Linked DNA regions of Homo sapiens: region 2 is linked to region 1. The links are contacts of gene promoters, found by promoter capture Hi-C in human tissues and cell types (Jung and others, 2019). All regions are on one chromosome and are shown on one strand. Each heading gives the region's core, a stretch centred on a gene start or on the middle of the fragment in contact. The rest is flanking DNA. Distances are from core to core; before and after follow the strand shown. Region 1 holds the start of ACP2 (acid phosphatase 2, lysosomal). Region 2 overlaps PHF21A (PHD finger protein 21A).

Evidence for each region. The method cuts DNA at HindIII sites, captures the fragments that hold promoters and counts their contacts. A contact is called where the count stands out against the background at its distance.
Region 2: a contact is called between a fragment that was not itself captured here and the fragment with the promoter of ACP2 in region 1, in 1 of the 25 tissues and cell types used here (dorsolateral prefrontal cortex).

What each region holds. Positions count from the first base shown.
Region 1 is chr11:47,245,518-47,250,586 of GRCh38, forward strand. ACP2 (acid phosphatase 2, lysosomal) reads right to left here and starts at 3,297. Exons shown (of 11, transcript NM_001610.4): 1 at 3,159-3,297; 2 at 2,521-2,616; 3 at 2,124-2,210; 4 at 165-317; 5 at 1-55. The coding sequence starts at 3,272. It also overlaps a transcript of NR1H3 not described here. RefSeq lists enhancers at 2,763-2,852, 2,983-3,492 and a silencer at 3,573-3,740. The HindIII fragment of the contact is 13,067 bases long and covers 1-5,069 here.
Region 2 is chr11:46,110,784-46,115,485 of GRCh38, forward strand. The region is part of intron 1 of PHF21A (PHD finger protein 21A); the gene reads right to left. Among named protein-coding and RNA genes, the nearest start is that of PHF21A, 8.3 kb to the right of the region's middle. The HindIII fragment of the contact is 6,770 bases long and covers 1-4,702 here.

The sequences.
Region 1 (5,069 bases), core at 2,047-4,546:
TCTCGTTCTGCAGCTGCTCATAACGGGGACATGGGCCCAACGGGAACTTCAGCAGCTGTAGAGCGAAGCGGGGAAACAGGCAGCGGGAAAAGGAGCCTGGCATCAGCAGGCCTACGGCCAGAGCTGTCCCCTCACCACCCCAGGGAAGGGCTGGCCACTCTTACCCTGTCCTCAGTGATGGGCACAGTGTGCACAGGAATAGGCTGCCACGAGATGTTCGGGTTGAAGCGCTGCATCCCGTTGGGAGGGAAGAGTCCAGCCAGGTTGGCCTCAGCACTCATGAGAGTCCGGTCAAAGTCTGTGCTTCGCACATAAACCTGCAGCGATAGCAACACAAGTCGTGTGTGTGTGTGTGTGTGTGTGTGTGTTGGGGAAGTTTTGGTCACCCTGAAGTGGAGCCTTGTATGTATGTGTGTGTGTGTGGTGGGAAGTTTTGGTCACCCCAAAGTGGAGCCCCAGAGGAGAACCTGTTCCTGATGGTCACCCAGCAAACTAAACCTACCATACATCTGGCCCTCACCCTCCTCTGGCCTCTGGCCTTCCCCATCCCCCAAACACTCCACTGGGGGTTGTCACCACTCTGTGAAGAACTCTTGTGGGAATGGCCTTAGTTGAAATGCCCCTTCCAGTCAAAAGTGCTGAGTCAATCAGTAAGGCTCTCTGGTCTGTCTGGTTTCATAACAACACCTCTCTCCCTGTCTAGATCAGGGTCCTTGGGGCAGAAACTGGCTCCAGTGACGACCCTTAGAGACCAGGGAGAAAAAAATAAGATAAAGGGCTGGGCCTGGTGGCTCACACCTATAATCCTAGCACTTTGGGAGGCCAATGCAGGAGGATCGCTTGAGGCCAGGAGCTCGAGACCAGCCTGGGCAACATAGTGAGACCCTGTCTCTACAAAAAAAAATTTTTTAATTACCCAAGTGTGGCGGGCACTTGTAGTCCCAGCTACTTGGGATGCTGAGGCAGGAGGATCACTTGAGCCCAGGAGTTTGAGGCTGCAGTGAGCTATGACTGAGGCATGTGCTACAGTTTGGGTGACAGAGTGAGACCCCTTTAAAATATATGTATATATTTTGGGCCGGGCACGGTGGCTCATGCCTGTAATCCCAGCACTTTAGGAGGCCGAGGCAGGCGGATCAGCTGAGGTCAGGAGTTCAAGACCAGCCTGGCCAACATGATGAAATCCTGTCTCTACTAAAAATACAAAAATTAGCCAGGCATGGTGGCACACACCTGTAATCCCAGCTACTTGGGAGGCTGAGACAGGAGAATCGCTTGAACCTAGGAGGTGGAGGTTGCAGTGAGCCAAGACCATGTCACTGCACTCCAGCCTGAGCAACACAGCAAGACTCTGTCTCAAAAAAAAAAATTTTTTTTGAAGAGCTTATTCAGAGATAGTGGCTCATGAAAAGGGAGGAGGAAACTGGGGAAGGACAAGCTCAGGACAGAGCTGGGCCTTAAGAGAACAATAACAATGTCTATGGATTCTTGATACGGCTGAGGCTGACAGTGGTAATCAGAGGAACAGCTTCCCCCATTCCTGGGGTGGGGCGAAGACTCAAGGAGCAGGCACACTCACCAGTCCTCCCTGATGTGCCCTAGGAATATAGCACGACCTGGCGCAGCAGACAGGGCTCAAAAACCTCATCTTGATCAAGAAAAGACAAGCCCTCTCTACGCATGTCTTCCCCGCTGTCTTTCATCTTGGCCCTGTCTGGTTTATCATTAGATACCCCCACAACATTCTAAGCTCCATGAAGACAGAGATCATATCTGTATGGTGCACAACTGAATGCAAAGTGCTAGCACAGTCCTTGGCCTTTAATAGGTACTCAATGTCTTGGATGGAAAGCCTGTGATTTCACAGTCAGAAACCACTTTGCCAGGCCCGCCCTTAAGTCCGAATTTGGATGCTTAATCAAATTTGCCTCATCCCAGCCAAGCAGGGGCAACTCAGCTCCTAGGGCTTTGTTCCAGACAGCTCTCAGATGTCTTTTCCTGTAGTTGTGACCAAAAATACAAGAAGGAGGCCAAAGTGCCCAGCCTCAGCCTTAGGCTCCCTGAGGGCAAAAGATGAGGGCAGCATACCTTGTTCCCCTTGCCTCTGGAGCTCCCAACCTTACCTCTTGCCGGTGATAAGAGGTGTTTAGGAAGCCGTGATAGCGCTGCCGCAGGGCCTGGCCCAGTTCCCAGTGCTGTAGCATCCCCTCCTGTGGGCAAACCCAAGGGTTAAGAGGGTCTAGAGGGAAGGGGTGGCTTCAAGCCCCATGGGGTTTAGGCCCTGTTGCTTTCCAGGTTCACGCTTTGCTGGAGTCAATTAATCTGATCCCAGAAGTCTTTCATTAAGTGGCCAGTCATGCACAGCAATATCATGGGCACAGAGATTAAGGTTATGAAATCTGGTCAAAGTCAGCACCCATATGGGAAAAGGCAGTTTAGTAGGACCCCAAGTTTTGTAGACTGCTCTAGACGTCGCTCATTCTGCAGCTCATCCTGAGGAAAGGCTGGCTTCTGACCCACCTTGGTTAACTGACCAAACCCCTGGGGCCATTCTTCTTCCTGATAGGGGTCCTTGGGATATGTCTTCACTGGTGAACGGTCTCCATGGCGGTACAGCTGAGAGAATAAAATGGTTTGCCTATAGGTCAGAAGCATCCCCTTGATAGGGACCCAGAGCCTACCTTTTGCCCCATGTTAGGGAAGGAAGTCTCATTCCCTCTGGGAAGCCTACTGGCTGCAAAAGACCCCAGCTAGGAGTCAGTCACTTCTTCCAGATTCCAGAGATTCTAACTTAGCTAAGCAATGCTACTGGAGACCATAGGCAAAGCCAAGGTACAGGTAGGAAGGGAAAAGAGAAGTGAAAGCAACGTATGTGGTGGGGACAACTGGGGAAAAAAGATAACCAAAGGCTTCTTTAGGGATGAGTCTTAACCATTCAACCACTTCCCTGTCTCAAGGCAGACTCACCCCGACGTATTCGGTCATCCTGACTCCCATAAGCCAGGGCTCCAGGTCAATCCTGAATCCAGCCTCCCAACTACCCAGGCCAGTCGTCCCCTCCTAAACCAGCTGTTCCTTCCCGAGATCCTCGACCTCCACCAGCTGGCCTTTGCCCTTTTAGCTTCAGGGAAGTCTTTGGTGAGCCCATCTCTCATTACCAAGGTAACGAAGCGCAGACTCCGGGCCCGGGTGGGCGGCATCACCACCAGGTTCACGCCGAGAAGGAGCTGGAGGAGAGCCGCCCGGCTCCAGCCGGACCGCTTGCCCGCCATCACCGTTGTAATCTATGCAGCAAACAAGCTGGAACCCGCTGGGTGGCACCTGCAAGCAGCCGCCCGGACGCACCCGTAAGGACACACGCCGGAAGTGCGTTCGCCGCCATCTTACTTAGGGACCTGCTGGGGTGCGGGGAAAAGGCGCAGTCTCGGTGGGATTGCGTGCAGGAGGGTCGTGGTCTGGCTGTGGCGGAGGAGCATAAGAAGGTAACGCGACCTGGCGCGGCAGACAGGGCTCGAAGACCTCATCTTGATTAAGAAGGCCACAAATTCGCGTTTGCCTCTGCTCGGAGAAATCCCTTACCAAGGTGGCACTTGCAGTGGGCGGGACCATGTCTGGAGAACCAGCGTCCCCTCCAGGCTTGACCCCATAGCTAGATCGGGTGCAGAATTGAGGCGAGGGATGGGAAAGTAGAGGTCGCTTCTCTCCACGCCCCTGCCTTTGTGGGGAGATTGAGCCCTGGCCCTGTTCTCCAGGAGATGTTTTGCTTGGGGTGCAGGACACAGTATGTAAACAACCCTTTGGACTCCGTGTGTCCTTGAGGTTGCCCCAGTCTGGCCTACCGTTCCTGCCCTGCACAAAGCTTCAGTAGCCCTCTCACTTTCCCTTCCAGTCCTTTCCCTGTCCTCCCTCCCCTCCACTTCCAAGTTTTAGTTAATTAGAGTCAAGACGTCATGTCATGCCTCTTCCCAAAGGAGTTGGGTTGCACAGGATGTTCAGACTTTACAAACCCAAAGCACTGAATCCCTGGGGGAGGAATTTCAGACCAGTGGGGAGGTATTTTGAGGTAAGGGACAGGCGCATATCATAAAGTGGGAGTAGGTGGGGTTTCCACAGAATCAATGGCCCTCTTGGCATTGACCATTAGGATTCAGGTGCAGCCAGTTTGGCCTCAGGACTTTGTGACTCCTGTGACGGTTGCAGGTCAGATCATAGGTCCTGGGGATGCTTTGATTCAGATCTGCCTACTGGAAGCAAATCTCCTCAGATCTTTGGGAAACAAAACTGATCAGGCTTGGCCTGGGCGCCGTGGCTCACCTGTAATACCAGCACTTTGAGAGGCCGAAGCAGGCAGATCACCTGAGGTCAGGAGTTCGAGACCAGCCTGGCCAACGTGGCGAAACCCCGTCTCTACTAAAAATACAAAAAAAAAAAAATTAGCCGGGTGCAGTGGCGTGCTCCTGTAATCCCAGCTACTCTGGAGGCTGAGGCAGGAGAATCGCTTGAACTCGGAAAGCGGAGGTTGCAGTGAGCTGAGATCACGCCACTGCACTCCAGCCTGCGCGACAGAGTGAGACTGTCTCAAAACAACAACAACAAAAACCTGATTAGGCTTGGTGTGGTGGCTCACGTTTCTAATCCCAGCACTTTGGGAGGCCAGGGTGGGAAGATTGCTTGAGCCCAGGAGTTGGAGACCAGCCTGAGCAGCTTAGGAAGATCTCCTCTCTACAAAAAAAAGTTTAAAAATTAGCTGGGTGTGGTGGCACACACCTGTGGTCCTAGCTCCTCGGGAGGCTGAGGTGGGAGGATCACCTTCAGCCCAGGAGGTTGAGGCTGCAGTGAGCCATGATGGTGCAACTGCACTCCAGTCTAGATGACAGAGCAAGACTGTGTCTCAAAAAGAAGAAAAGAAAAAAAAAGATCAGGATTATCTGTCTTTATTTTGTCCTAGGACTCCAGATTCAATTATTTATATATACTTCAGGATTTAAACTTTGCTTCCAGAGTTGTCATGGAGGAGGCCAAGAAGCAAATAGAGTAAGAGCCAAAGCCTGGGTAGCCAAACAGTTCTT
Region 2 (4,702 bases), core at 1,286-3,785, 1.1 Mb before region 1:
AACAATTTTTTTTTTTTTTTGAGACAGAGTCTTGCTCTGTCTCCCAGGCTGGAGTGCAATGGCACAACCGCAGCTCACTGCAACCTCCGCCTTCTGGGTTCAAGCGATTCTCCTGCCTCAGCCTCCCGAGTAGCTGGGATTACAGGCACCTGCCACCACGCCCAGCTAATTTTCTATTTTCAGTAGAGATGAGGTTTTGCCATGTTGGCCAGGCTGGTCTCGAACTCTTGACCTCAGGTGATCCACCCGCCTCAGCCTACCAAAGAGCTGGGATTACAGGCGTGAGCCACCGCGCCTGGCCATATTAACAAATTTTAAATCACAACTATGTGGGGGGGGAGGCTAGTATTATTACAGCAGATTGGTTTGCTATATAAACAAGTACTTTAAAAAATATTTCTTGGGCCAGGCGTGGTGGCTCACGCCTGTAATCCCAGCACTTTGGGAGGCCGAGGTGGGCAGATCACTTGAGGCCAAGAGTTAAGAGACCAGCCTGGCCAACATGGTGAAACCCCATCTCTACTAAAAATATAACAATTAGCCAGGCATGGAGGTGCATGCCTGTAATTCCAGCTGCTCGAGAGGCTGAGGCATGAGAACTGCTGGATCCTGGGAGGCAGAGGTTGCAGTGAGCTGATATTGCGCCACTGCACTCCATATCCAGCCTGGGCAACATGGCAAGACTCCGTCTCAAATAAATAAATAAATAAATAAATAAAACTAAAGGCAGAGTTTTCTTAAATAAACATGGTAGCCCTCAGCAACAATATTGTAAGAACTCCTCGCAAGAGAAAAAGCTGGAATAAGATACTGGCTAAGCAAGTAAGAAAGGCACTGCCCTGCTTCTGCATACATTCAAACTAAGACATATACATTGCAGCTTACACTTACATTTTCCAATATCCCCAGGCATCCCTTTCCCTTCTCAAACAGCCAAAAGGAACCAGCCATGCAAATAAAAATACAAGTTCAAGAGCCTAAAAGAAGTCAGTGTCCTAAAAGAGAAAATTAATGTAAAGAATTAAGATTTTTTGAAACTACACTTTCTTTCTGGGGCTGTTTACTGGCCTCCAATACATCAATCCTGTAACACTGTGAACTACAGTGATAGATTGGTACATGCTTCTAAACACAACAGAATTTTTCCAAGGTTACATACACTGTAACAAAAGGGGCATTTTGCAGCATCTTATTTTCCTTAATCAACTAGTTTGGATATTCTAACAGTGCAAACATTGTAAACAATAAATTTTCATTACCTTTTGAACTTTCTGAAGTCAACCAAAGGCTTGTGGTATGGATGCAATGAGTACTAGACAGGCAGAGCTGAATACTAGTCAAAATATTCAGTTACTGGTGTGATAGTCCTTTTGGGGGCATACATCACTTAGGGAGAAACTGAGGTGCAAGGACATTTTACACACAGCAAAAACATTCTCAGGAATTTGTCACATCATTACCATAAGCCAAAAATCTCAAGGTCTTAGAACAGCCTGAGCTTCTGATCAAATTATATTGTAAAAAGAGAGGAAAAAAATGTGAAGCGTGCTATTTTTTAAAATAACAGTAACTACTACTACTGCTGCTGCTGCTAATTCTAAACGTTTACTGAGCCCTTATTATGTGCCAAGCACCGTGCTAGGTACGGTCATAGATTTTAACAATTAATCCCTGTAACAACCCTCTGATATTAGTTAATAAAATTAAAGTAGAATCCTCACCAAAAAAATTTAAACTTTCCAAATAAAAATATAAATAAATTATTAAAGACATTTCACCTCTTTCTCTGCCTCAGACTACATTTTCAAGTATTAAATTTACACTAAAACCACATTTATTTTCAGGAATTCCAGTTAAAGCGTACAGATATTCAAGATGTTGACAATTATTACAGAAGAATCACAGAACTCTGAAATTAAATACTGGCACAGAAAACCTTCCATCCAACCTTACGGAACAACTATCCCCATTTTAAAAAAAAAGGAACAGCATATATATCAGGCTTGATAATAAGAGGCTTCTCATGCCCACACTAGCAATGAATGATGCCATAATTATAAAGAGACCTGTATCGCCACATGCATAAAAATAATTTACATCTGCTAAGTCAAGTTTTCAATATATTATTTTGTGTGTAAACCTTATAGTAGCTGATAAAAAATACAATAAACTAATCTAAGGTAAACTAAAACACTAGGTTGTTTCTGAAGACTCACTTTAGAATTTGAGCAGCATAATAATCATAATATTAGTAATCAAACTACTTAGCAGAAAGTTCTTAGAGGGCTGGGAAGCTGTGTATAATAAAATGGAGCAGACAAGAAGGAAGGGTTTTCCGTACTGTTTAAATCAACTACAGGTCCCAGCATGCAGTGCTCTAATCTGAAGTTAAGCAAAAACTGCAATGCATACTGGGACTTGTAGTAAGTAAACCACGTTATCACAGCAAGTTTCAAGAAAGTCTGAACTATCTAGCACAATTTGACTATATCTTATTATCAGAGTCTAATCAAATTTAAATCAAATTTGTATGTTCTCTGATGTGGCACACAGTTTCTCTAGCACATACCGGAAAAAGTATCAATATTTAGACCAACATTTTCACATTAGAAAAATCTTACGTAGGAGAAGCACAGAAAAAAATGCTGAAAAAGCAAAAAAACTTGATGAATAAAAAATATAATTTTTGAAATAGTTTTTTAAAGTTTGAATGGATCCATTTCAACATTCTCTAATCCTCCCCCACAAAAAGTTTAATTGTTTTGGCCGGGCGCGGTGGCTCACGCCTGTAATCCCAACACTTTAGGAGGCTGAGGCGGGTGAATTACGAGATCAAGAGATCGAGACCATCCTGGCCAACATGGTGAAACCATCTCTACTAAAAATACAAAAATTAGTTGGGCGTGGTGGCGCACGCCTGTAGTCCCAGCTACTCAGGAGGCTGAGACAGGAGAATTGCTTGAACCTGGGAGGTGGAGGCTGCAGTGAGCTAATATCGCACCACTGCACTCCAGCCTGGTGACAGTGTGAGATTCATTCTCAAAAAAAAAAAAAAAAAAAGTTTAATTGTTTTAACAGGTTGCTTTTTAACAATTATTCAAGATGTATTTTATAAATAATTTTTCTTGAAGAAAATTCTCAGAAGCAAACATTCCCCATATTCTAATATTGCCCACCAGGAAATAATTTTTTTAGTAATACGCACACACCCCATCACAAAAACAAACAAAAAACACTGAAGTTCTGCTTTTGTCAAGTCCTTACTCAATATTTATGCCCTCCATTCCTCACCTCTAATTCCCTACACACACACACACACACGCACACATCCCCACACACACACGCTTCTACAAAGAACACTTAGAAAAACAGTATTCCAACTACAAGCCCACTTCTCTCATCCACTGACCTCTTCTGAAAACACAAAAGATTTTTTAAGCTATCAGTAACACGTCCAAACACAAGCTGATAAGTTTGAGCTAGAATTTACATATATACAGTTGCTACACACCCTCCTATTTTCTGCAAGTCTGTGGAAGGAGGCTGGGAAAGAACTAAGTGCAATCTGCATCAGGAGGCCTAACACAGGTGGTGGGTTATTTTCAGGCAACAGCACCTTCACAAACATGTTTTGGAATATAGTCCAAGAAATTCCTAACAAGGAAAGATAAGCTGGCACACAAATTTAACGCAATCCAGCTAAAAATCATCTGCAACACATGCTACTACATTTCACCATAAAAGTGACGGGCTACTATAAAGGATTTGAAGCTTCGTCAATACAACATACTGTCCATAAGGCCAGAGATAGCAGTTGCCATGGTTACTATACCCACTTTTATCAGGAAATTACTGTCATTACCCCAAAGTTTTGGGTACTTATTTAAAATTTAAAAAAAACACACACAATTTAGGGTTCTGACTGTTAATTGAGTGAAATAATCAACTACTGTTTGATTTGTAAGTATGTCGCTTTGGAGATGCACATGGTTAACAATACTTGGATCTGCAGCAGAAAAAAAATCAATTCCTTTCTGCTGCTCCTTCTCCTCAAGTACTGACAGTTTGTATTCTCAATGCAGCCAAAACAATAAAACAAAACCCATCTTTTTGGCTTCTGTGTTTAAGTTATTTTTCCCCTAGGCCCACAAACAGAGTCAAAATAAAGCCTAGATCATCAACCTGTTAGGCCTCATCCCCTTCCTATCCCCTCCATACTGGTTCACTTTCTTGACTACTTAGAAAAGGCAGAAAACATTTCTGTAACTGATTCCAAAGTATAGAAAAGAATAGTTGCCTTCAACTGAGATATTTTCACCAAAGTCTTTTTTATTTACTTTTTTTTTAAGGCAGGGAGAGGGGAGAGACTTGCAGGGTACTGAAAGGGAGAAGTGGAGGAGTATTCAAATTGCCACACAAGTCTAGTGTAAGAAAGTTGCTTTAGAAGAGTCCAAAGGATGGCTGAACCTCACATATAATTTCTAAAAGCTTTGGAAGAGTTCACCATAATTTTAAGACTGAATTGAGGGACAAGTAATAGAAAAGTTATTCATAAAGTCTACTTCAACATTTTTACAAAAGATAACTATTCAAAAATTTAACACACATATAAGAATTATACGAAAGCCTACAAAATAGTATGGCCACATATACACACAAACATACAAAGTAGAAAACATAAGCTATTTAAGAAATAATTATC